Linked DNA regions of Homo sapiens: region 2 is linked to region 1. The links are contacts of gene promoters, found by promoter capture Hi-C in human tissues and cell types (Jung and others, 2019). All regions are on one chromosome and are shown on one strand. The core of a region is centred on a gene start or on the middle of the fragment in contact, and the rest is flanking DNA. Distances in the headings are between cores, read along the strand shown.

Evidence for each region. Contacts are between HindIII fragments. The study calls those that stand out against the background at their distance.
Region 2: a contact is called between a fragment that was not itself captured here and the fragment with the promoter of BECN1 in region 1, in 4 of the 25 tissues and cell types used here (aorta, dorsolateral prefrontal cortex, mesenchymal stem cells and 1 more).

The regions. Positions count from the first base shown.
Region 1 is chr17:42,821,677-42,827,000 of GRCh38, reverse strand. BECN1 (beclin 1) reads left to right here and starts at 2,719. Exons shown (of 12, transcript NM_001313998.2): 1 at 2,719-2,846; 2 at 3,122-3,253. The coding sequence starts at 3,124. MIR6781 (microRNA 6781) reads left to right here and starts at 3,058; the gene lies at 3,058-3,121. RefSeq lists enhancers at 1,790-2,356, 2,361-2,490, 2,357-2,925, 2,926-3,492. The HindIII fragment of the contact is 8,869 bases long and covers 1-5,324 here.
Region 2 is chr17:42,973,922-42,979,245 of GRCh38, reverse strand. It overlaps PTGES3L-AARSD1 (PTGES3L-AARSD1 readthrough), which reads left to right. Exons shown (of 17, transcript NM_001136042.2): 4 at 1-76. It overlaps PTGES3L (prostaglandin E synthase 3 like), which reads left to right. Exons shown (of 7, transcript NM_001261430.2): 4 at 1-76. Among named protein-coding and RNA genes, the nearest start is that of PTGES3L, 3.5 kb to the left of the region's middle. RefSeq lists a silencer at 2,547-2,747. The HindIII fragment of the contact is 3,226 bases long and covers 136-3,361 here.

The DNA of each region.
Region 1 (5,324 bases), core at 1,470-3,969:
TGACTTGAAAATTTAAAACTTCCTGAACATCTGGAAAATAATTAAAGCATTCATGAAAAATTACTAAAAATACTGAGAAAAATACTAATAATCCAATACCTAAATAATCAAAGAATGCAAACATAATTCAGAAAAAAGTAACTACTGCTTGAGCCCGGGAGGCGGAGATTCCAGTGAGCTGATATTGCACCACTGCACTCCAGCCTGGGTGACAGAGTGAGACCGTGTCTCTTTTTTTTTTTTTTTTTAAAAAAAGGCCGGGCATGGTGGCTCACACCTGTAATCCCAGCACTTTGGGAGGCCAAGGCGGGCAGATCAGGAGGTCAGGAGATTGAGACCATCCTGGCTAACATGGTGAAACCGTCTCCACTAAAAATATAAAAAATTAGCCGGGTGTAGTGGTGGGCGCCTGTAGTCCCAGCTACTCGGGAGGCTGAGACAGGAGAATGGCGTGAACCCAGGAGGCAGAGGTTGCAGTGAGCCGAGATGGCACCACTGCACTCCAGCCTGGGCAACAGAGCAAGACTCCATCTCAAAAAAAAAAAAAAAAGTAACTACAATAAGCAAATACATAGCAAAAAGTTCAGCCTTACCAGCAATCAATGATGCTAATTAAAATAACAAGGAAGTGCCATTTTTTGCTTTTGTTCCCCAAATATATGATACCCAATACTGGCCAAGGCAATATGAAAACAGGCTTCCTCATACATTACTGGAAGCAGAATATAGTTATGTGCAAGCACTTTGGAAAATGATTCCCAGTGTTAAGGAAGAGACATTAAATAGCTGACACACTCTTAATTCTGTAGTCCCAGTTATGAGTCTCTATCATAAGTAGCCAGCTCTTCATTGCAGGATTATTGTAATCACCCACAGGGGAAATAGTAGAATTTCCAGCGGTAAAAAAATACACTAAGGCAGTACATTTAGTGTAGTGTAATGTAGCCATGATAACTACAATAACTGTGTAGCAACATAGAAAAATGTTAAATTTAAAAAGCAGAAGCCTGGGCAACAAAGTGAGACCCCATCTCTTTTTTTTTTTGAGATGGCGTCTCGCTCTGTCACCGAGGCTGGAGTGCAGTGTGAGACCACATCTCTACAAAAAATTTTAAAAATTAGCTGGGCATGGTAGTGATCACCTGTGGTCCCTGCTACACTGGAGGTTGAAGCAAGAGGATTGCTTGAGCCAGGAAGTCAAATCTGCAGTGAGCCATGTTTGTTTGTTCCGCTTCACTCCAGCCTGGGTAACAGAGTAAGACACTGTCTCAAAATAAAAATAAAATAGACAATACTACATACAATTTTGGGTTAAGCAGTGGTTTCTTTTACACCAAAAGCATAAACATTGGACTTTATTGAAATGAAAAACTTTTGGCCAGGCACATTGGCTCACACCTGTAATCTCAGCACTTTGGGAGGCCACAGTGGGGGATTGCAAGGGGAGATGGGAAATGTTCTAAAACTGGATTATGGTGATAGTTGGGCAACTGTGTAAATTTACTAAAAATTATTGAACTGTACATTTAAAAAGTGTGAGTCTTATGGTATGTAAATTATACCCCATAAAGTTGTTTTTAAAAATGAAGTAAGTCCCTCTGCTCAAGACCCAGTCATCTCATCTCATTCAAAGTGAAAGCCAGAGCTTTACAATCCCTATAAGAGCCTAGGTGGTAGCTCAACACTCTTACCTCCCTCACCCCATTTTCTGTATCTCTTTTCGTTGCCCATCTTCTAGCCACACCAGCCTCTGCTAATCCCCAAACAGGTACCCTCTGTGCTCTTGCTGTTCCCTTGGCCTAGAATGCTCTTCCTTAAGATGCAGGTAAGAATTCCTTCCTCACCTTCTTCAAGCTTTTATTTGAATATCACTTTCTTTTTTTGTTGGTTTTGTGTGTGTGTGTGGGGGGGGGGGGTTTGAGATGGAGTTTCCTTCTGTCGCCCAGGCTGGAGTGCAGTGGCATGATCTCGACTCACTGCAACCTCCGCCTCCGGGGGTCAAGCGATTTTCCTACCCCAGCCTCCTGAGTAGCTGGGATTACAGGCGCACGCCACCATGCCCAGCTAATTGTATTTTTTAGTAGAGACGGGATTTAACCATTTTGGCCAGGCTGGTCTCGAACTCCTGACCTTGTGATCCGCCCGCCTCGGCCTCCCAAAGTGCTGGAATTACAAGCGTGAGCCACCATGCCCGGCCTTTTGTTGTTGCTGTTGTTGTTCTGAGATGGAGCCTTGCCCTGTCGCCCAGGCTGGAGTGCAGTGGCCCGATCTCGGCTCACTGCAACCTCCACCTCCCAGGTTCAAGCGATTCTCCTGCCTCAGCCTCCCGAGTAGCTGGGATTAAGCTGGGATTATAGGCGTGCCCCACCACGCCCGGCTAGTTTTTGTATTTTTAGTAGAGACGGGGTTTCACTGTGTTGGCCAGGCTGGTCTCGAACTCCTGACCTCACGTGATCCGCCCTCCTCGGCCTCCCCAAGTGCTGAGATTACAGGCGTGAGCCACCGCGCCCGCCGCCCCCTGAATTTAGAGAATAGCGGAGCCTCCCCATTCTCTGCGGCCTTGGCTCCTACACTTCCCGTGGTAACCTTGTTCATCCGCTGAAGCCCGCTGCTTTTCCCAGCCCGGCCTCTGGGGGCCGCTGCCGGGCCTGTGAGCCTGTGGACCAGGAGCTCCTGCTGCCGTCGTAGCGTCACGTCCGGTCTCGGGCGGAAGTTTTCCGGCGGCTACCGGGAAGTCGCTGAAGACAGAGCGATGGTAGTTCTGGAGGCCTCGCTCCGGGGCCGACCCGAGGCCACAGTGCCTCCGCGGTAGACCGGACTTGGGTGACGGGCTCCGGGCTCCCGAGGTGAAGAGCATCGGGGGCTGAGGTGGGACCTTAGAAGGGAGTCTGGGAACCCTCACGGCTCTTATTGGAGTCCCTTCCCTGACCCTGGGCTCTAAACTGCCTTTGCTCAGGCTGTCCCGGAAGCAGGTCCTCCCCGTATCATACCATTCCTAGAGGGAACGGCGCAGGTTGGGACTTCCCTCCCTTTACCATCGTCACCAAGGCATGTGGTAACCCCGGGCCGGAGGTCAAGGGCGTCGCTTCTCCCTAATGTTGCCTCTTTTCCACGGCCTCAGGGATGGAAGGGTCTAAGACGTCCAACAACAGCACCATGCAGGTGAGCTTCGTGTGCCAGCGCTGCAGCCAGCCCCTGAAACTGGACACGAGTTTCAAGATCCTGGACCGTGTCACCATCCAGGAACTCACAGGTCAGCGAGACCCTTGGAAAGAGGGTGGTCAAGAATGTGGAAGGTGGGCAGCTTTGGTGATATAATTCTTATGGTGGCTGTGTAGTCTGCCACAAACTCATCGTGTGAACCTAGGAAAGTCACTTCATCTGGCTCCCTGTTTTCTCCTTGGAAACATAAAGCATTCTGACATTGTGGACTTCTGAGAGCTTTCCGACCGGGCGCGGTGGCTCACGCCTGTAATCCCAGCATTTTGGGAGACCGAGGCGGGCAGATCACCTGAGGTCAGGAGTTCGAGACCAGCCTGGCCAACATGGCGAAACCCCTCTCTACTAAAAATACAAAAATTAGCCGGGCGTGATGGCACGTGCCTGTAGTCCCAGCTACTCGGGAGGTTGAGGCAGGAGAATCGCTTGAACCGGTGAGGTGGAGTTTGCAGTGAGCTGAGATCGCACCACTGCACTCCAGCCTGGGCAACAGAGCGAGGCTCCGTCTCAAAAAAAGAGAGCTTTCAGTAGCAAAAGAAAGATCCTTATTTTCTGCTCCTGCTGTTTCAGAGAAAAGGAATATGTATATATAATAATAAATGGTATTTTTTGAGGACTTACTATATAGTAATACCAAGTGCATTACACGTATTACTTCATTTAGTCCCTGTAACAACCCGTACGGGGTATACCGTCATTACATCATTTTTCAGATGAAGAACCGAGGCACAGAGAGGTTAAGTGACTTACCTAAGGTCCAACAGCTGGTAAATGGAGTAGAGTCTTAAAGTCTGAAGAATTTGCTGGATGTGATGGCTCACGCCTGTAATCTCAGTGCTTTGGGAGGCTGAGGTGGGAGGATCGCTTGAGCCCAGGAGTTCAAGACCAACCTGAGCAACCTAGCAGAGATCTTGTCTCTAAAAAAAAAAAAAAATTGCTGGGTGTGGTGGGTGGTGGAGGCTGAGGCAGGAGGATCACTTGAGCCCAGGAGGTCAAAGCTGCAGGAAGCTATGATCATGCCACTGCACTGCAGCTTGGGCAACAGTGCAAGACCCTGTCTCAAAAAATAAATTAATTAAAAAGGCCAGGAGTGGTGGTTCACACCTGTGATCCCAGCACTATGGGAGGCTGAGGCAGGTGGATCACTTGAGCAGGAGTTTGAGACCAGCCTGGGCAACACAGTAAGACCCTGTCTCTATAATTAAAAAAAATAAAAAACCCCAAAATCCCGCAAAGTCAGAAGAATTCAGATTAAGTCAGACAGTAAAAGAGAAGACTGAATAGGCAGCTTAAATAAGCTTATGGGCCTGGAGTCAGCCTGCTTGGGTTTAAATCCTGGCTGTCATTTACTAGCTGAACAACTTTTTGCAAGTTACTTCATTTCTCCAAGCCTTGGTTTCTGATTTTTTCTGTAAAACGTTAAACTGCCTCATAAAGAATTTATAAAGTTCAAATATGACAAACCACAGAAACACTTAGGAATTTGCTGGGCAAATAGTATTCAATAAGTATTAGCTGCTATTATTACCTGGTTTCTCTTTCTTGAGGGGAAATTAGCTCTTTTTTTTGTTTGTTTGTTTGAGACGGAGTCTCACTCTGTTGCCAGGCTGGAGTGCAGTGGCGCGATCTCGGCTCACTGCAACCTCTGCCTCCCGGGTTCAAGTGATTGTCCTGCGTCAGCCTCCTGAGTAGCTGGGACTGCAGGCACACACCGCCACGCCCAGCTAATTTTTGTATTTTTAGTAGAGACGGTTTCACTATGTTGGCCAGGATGGTCTCGATCTCTTGACCTTGTGATCTGCCCGCCTCAGCCTCCCAAAGTGCTGGGACTACAGGCGTGAGCCACCGCGCCTCTTAAACTCTTTTAATAACAATTTTTGACTTTTTATTATGGAAAATTTGAGACATATATAGTCAAGAGAATAGCATAGCCTGCCTTGTATTCATCATCCAGCTTCAATAATCAGCCATATTCTCACATTCTTATGTTGTCTACACCTCCATTCACCTCCCATCCTCTGCTCAATTATTATGTTTTTCACACCTTTTTAGAAAGGTAAATTGTCATGACTTGAAATGTATGAATCTTAGCTGTACATTTTTGA
Region 2 (5,324 bases), core at 499-2,998, 150 kb before region 1:
CCGCTCTATTACTTGTTTTGTGAGAAAATGGAAGGAAAAGGTGGCCTGGCCGCGGCTTACCAAGGAGGATATCAAGGTGGGTGTGTGGAAAGTGGCCTGCTTCTTCTCTCCATGTACCCAGGTTACAGCTGGGATTGTCCTTGCCTCCTTTCCAGCCAATATTCAATCACTCAACAAGTCCTGCCTAATCTTTTTTTTCCAACTGTATTAGTCTCTCTTTTTATTTTTATTTATTTATTTATTTTGAGACGGAGTTTCACTCTTGTTGCCCAGGCTGGAGTGCAGTGGCGTGATCTCAGCTCACCATGGCCTCCGCCTCCCGGGTTCAAGCAATTCTCCTGCCTCAGCCTCCTGGGTAGCTGGGATTACAGGCATGCACCACCACGCCCAGCTAATTTTGTATTTTTAGTAGAGATGGGGTTTCTCCTTGTTGCTCAGGCTGGTCTCGAACTCCCGACTTCAGGTGATCTGCCCGCCTCGGCCTCCCAAAGTGCTGGGATTACAGGCGTGAGCCACCGCGCCTGGCTTATTTTTTAACTTAAAGTTCTGGGATACATGTGCAGAACATGCAGGTTTGTTACATAGGTATACGTGTGCCATGGTGGTTTGCTGCATCTATCAACCCGTCATGCAGGTTTTAAGTCCTGCATACATTAGCTATTTGTCCTGAGTCTCTTTTTACTCTCTTGGTAATCTCTCCCAGTTAACTTACTTTCGTTGTAGGTGATGAAATGTGTAAGACTCCACTTCAGATATTGGCACTGCTATGAACATGGTCTTTCCCTTTACTGCAACTCACAATCAAAACCTTTGATTCTTTTTGTGTGTGTGTTTGTGTGAGATGGATTCTCACTCCCGTAGCACAGGCTGGAGTGCAGTGGCGCGATCTTGGCCCACTGCAACATCCACTTCCCGGGTTCAAGCGATTCTCCTTCCTCAGCCTCCTGAGTAGCTGGGATTACTGGCTTGTGCCCCCACGCCTGGCTAATTTTTGTATTTTTAGTAGAGACGGGGTTTCACCATATTGGTCAGGCTGGTCTTGAATTCCTGACCTCAGGTGGTCTACCCGCCTCAGCCTCCCAAACTGCTAGGATTACAGGCGTGAGCCAATGTGCCCAGCCATTTCTTTTTCTTTTTTCTTTCTGTTTTTTTTTTTTTTTTTTTTTTTGATTCGGAGTTTCGCTCTTGTTGCCCAGGCTGGAGTGCAATGGCATGATCGCAGCTCACTACACCTCCGCCTCCCAGATTCAAGCGATTCTCCTGCCTCAGTCTCCCGAGTAGCTGTGATTACAGGCATGTGCCACCACACCCAGCTAATTTTGTATTTTTAGTAGAGACAGTGTTTCAACATGTTGGCCAGGCTGGTCTCAAACTCCTGACCACAGGTGATCCACCTGCATCGGCCTCCTAAAGTGCTGGGATTACAGCTGTGAGCCACTGCACCCGGCCTCTGCCAATTCTTGTTTTCTATATTCCAGTCCCAGAAGTAGTTTCCACTGTAGAAATTAATTGATGAGTCTTATTCTTTCTTTTCTTTCTTTCTTTCTTTCTTTTCTTTCTTTCTCTCTCTCTCTCTCCCTCCCTTCCTCCCTCCCCCTCTCTCTCTTTCTTTCTTTTTCTTCTTTTCTTTTTTTTTTTTTTGAGACAGAGTTTCTCTCTTGTTGCCCAGGCTGGAGTGCAATGGCGCCATCTCGGCTCACTGCAACCTCCGCCTCCTGGGTTCAAGCGATTCTCCTTCATCAGCCTCCTGAGTAGCTGGGATTACAGGCGTGTGCCACCACGCCCGGCTAATTTTTGTATTTTTGTATTTTTTTTTTTTTGAGATAGAGTCTCACTCTGTCACCCAGGCTGGAGTGCAGTGGCGTGATCTCAGCTCACTGCAACCTCTGTCTCCTGGGTTCAAGTGATTCTCCTTCCTCAGCCTCCTGAGTAGCTGGGATTACAGGTGCCCACCACCATGCCCAGCTAATTTTTGTATTTTTAATAGAGACAGGGTTTCACCATGTTGGCCCGGCTGCTCTTGAACTCCTGACCTCAGGTGATCTGCTCGCCTCGGCCTCCCAAAGTGCTGGGATTACAGGTGTAAGCCACCGCACCTGGTAATTTTTTGTATTTTTAGTAGAGATGGGGTTTTGCCATGTTGACTAGGCTGGTCTCGAACTTCAGACCTCAGGTGATCTGCCTGCCTCAGCCTCCCAGGGTGCTGGAATTACAGGCATGAGCCACCACACCTAGCCCTGATGACTCTTATTCTTTCTAGTAGTGGCTTACAACCAGGCTCTACTGACCTCTTAAATATTAATGAATTCACTACTTAATTTCTTCCTAGTTCAAGCCTCACCAGCATACAGTGAGAAGTTTGTTGCATATTTTCAGTTCCATTTTCAATCCATTCTCTGCATTGCCCTCAGCATGGTCTGTCTAAAACACACATTTGACCCTGATGCTCCCCCACTTAAGGCCCTCCAAAGTCGTCTCCTCCTTAAAGGTTGAAAACTGACTGCCTGATGGCTGGATCTGGCTCTCAGATTTGTTTTAATCTTTACAGTGTCAAAAATTATTTTAAGGCCGGGTGTGGTGGCTCACGCCTGTAATCCCAGCACTGTAGGAGGCCGAGGCAGGCAGATTGCTTGAGGTCAGGAGTTGGAGACCAGCCCAGACAACATAGTGAAACGCCGTCTCTACTAAAAATACAAAAAATTAGCTGGGTGTGGTGGCGCATGTCTGTAGTCCTAGCTATTCAGGAGGCTGAGGCAGAATAATCGCTTGAACCTGGGAAGTGGAGGTTGCAGTGAGCTGAGATCGTGCCACTGCATTCCAGCCTGGGCGACAGAGCGAGACAACGTCTCAAAAAAAAAGAAATTATTTTGACTTGTTACTGACATTAAAAAATTTTTATTAGTTGCTGACATTTAAAAATGTGCATCTTCTAAAAATCCAGACTATAAGCTTCTGTTGAAAAATGGGAGGCTGAGAGAGGTGGCTCACAATCCCAGCACTTTGGGAGGCTGAGGTGGATGGATTGATTTAGGTCAGGAGTTCAAGACCAGCCTGGCCAACATGGCAAAACCCCATCTCTACTAAAAATACAAAAAATGAGCTGGGCGTGGTGGTGCGAGCCTGTAGTGCCAGCTACTCGGGAGGCTGAGGCGGGAGAATTGCTTGAACCCGGGAGGCAGAGGTTGCAGTGAGCCAAGAGCTCACCACTGCACTCCTGCCTGTGCAATAGAGTGAGACTCCATTTCAAAAAAAATAAATAAATAAAACGGGGAGCCAGGTTCGGTGGCTCGTGACTGTAATCCCAGCACTTTGGAAGGCCGAGGCAGGCAGATCACAAGGTGGGGAATTTGAGACCAGCCTGGCCGACGTGGTGAAACCCCGTCTCTACTAAAAATACGAAAGTTAGCAGAGCGCGGTAGCACGTGCCTGTAATCCCAGCTGCTCCGGAGGCTGAGGCAGGAGAATTGCTTGAACCCGGGAGGCAGAGGTTGCAGTCAGCCGAGATCACCCCACTGCACTCTAGCCTGGATGACAGAGTGAGACTCTGTCTCAGAAAGAAAAAAGAAAAAGAAAAATGAGAGAATCTAGCCCCACTGATACACATCCCCAGATGCCTAGAGTTGAAGTTTTCAGTGGATCATGTACTTCACCTCACTTGCTCCTTTTCATTACCTCCCTGACTCTCTTGGGTATTTGAGCGTTTGATTTCCTGCCCTTTAGGTTGAGATCCGTTACATAACACACTAGCACATCCCACACTCTCTGCCCCAAGCTTTATCTTCTAGCCACAGCAGACTGTTGTGTTTTGTTTGTTTTGCAAAAACCAGGCTGTTTCTCACCTCTGTACCTTTGCTCAAGGTATGCCTTCTTCCTGAAAAGTTACCATCATTACTACCTTCACCCACCCAATCCCTGTGCATCCTTCAAAGCCCTGCCACTCCAGAAACCTGGGTTCTTGTGACTCCTTTTGGGGTTCCCATGATGTCCCCTATATAACTCCACCACCACACTTTTCACACTGTATTATAGTGCTTTATTTATATCTCCCTCCCCAGCTTGCTTCCAAGTGGCTGGGACAGTGTGTTGACCTTTTTTTTTTTTTTTTTTTTTGAGACAGGATGTCGTACTGTTACTCAGGCTGGAGTACAGTGGCATAATCAAGGTTCACAGCAGCGTTGCCCTTCTGGGCTCAAGCAATCCTCTCACCTTAGCCTCTTGAGTAGGTGGAACAACAGAAGTGTGCCACCATGCCTGGCTAATTTTTGTATTTTTTGTAGAGATGGGGTTTTGCCATGTTGCCCTAGGCTGGTCTCGAACCCCTGGGCTCAAGCAATTGATGTGCCTTGGCCTCCCAAAGTGCTGTGATTATAAGTGATAGCCACTGCGCCCGGCCAGAACATTTTTATAAACCCAGTGCCAAGCTGAGAGTCTGTCCATAGTATGTGTTCAATAAATTTTTTTTTTTTTTTTTTTGAGACAGAGTCTCACTCCATCGCCCAGGTTGGAGTACAGTGGCGTGATCTCGACTCACTGCAACCTCCACCTTCCGGGTTCCAGTAATCCTCCTGCGTTAGTCTCCTGAGTAGATGGGATTACAAGTGCCCACCAGCATTCCCAGCTAATTTCTGTATTTTTAGTAGAGATGGGGTTTCACCATGTTGGCCAGGCTGGTCTCAAACTCCTGACGTCAAGTGATCCACCTGCCTCAGCCTCCCAAAATGCTGGGATTACAGATGTTAGCCACTGCACCTGGCCAATAAATATCTTTTGAATGAAGGAGTGAATAACTTCTTCCCTGTATAAATGTGGAAACTTTGGAACATGGACCTTGAAGGGCTGTCTCTGACTCCATGGAATGCAGCTTGTCTTTTTTTTTTTTTTTTTCGAGACAGAGTTCCACTCTTGTTGCCCAGGCTGGGGTGCAGTGGCGCGATCTCAGCTTACTGCAGCTTCCACCTGCCAGGTTCAAGCAATTTTCCTGCCTCAGCCTCCCAAGTAGCTGGGACTAGAAGCATGTGCCACCATGCCCAGCTAATTTTGTATTTTTAGTAGAGATGGGGTTTTACCATGTTGGCCAGGCTGGTCTCGAACTCCTGACCTCAGGTGATCCACCCACCCTGGCCCCGCAGAGTGCTGGGATTACAGGTTGTGTGAGCCACTGCGCCTGGCTGCAGCTTGTCTGTCTTATTGGTTGACTCCTATGTTGCTTTATTTTTTTTTATTTTTATTTTTATTTTTTTTTAATTTATTTTTTTATTGATAATTCTTGGGTGTTTCTCACAGAGGGGGATTTGGCAGGGTCATGGGACAATAGTGGAGGGAAG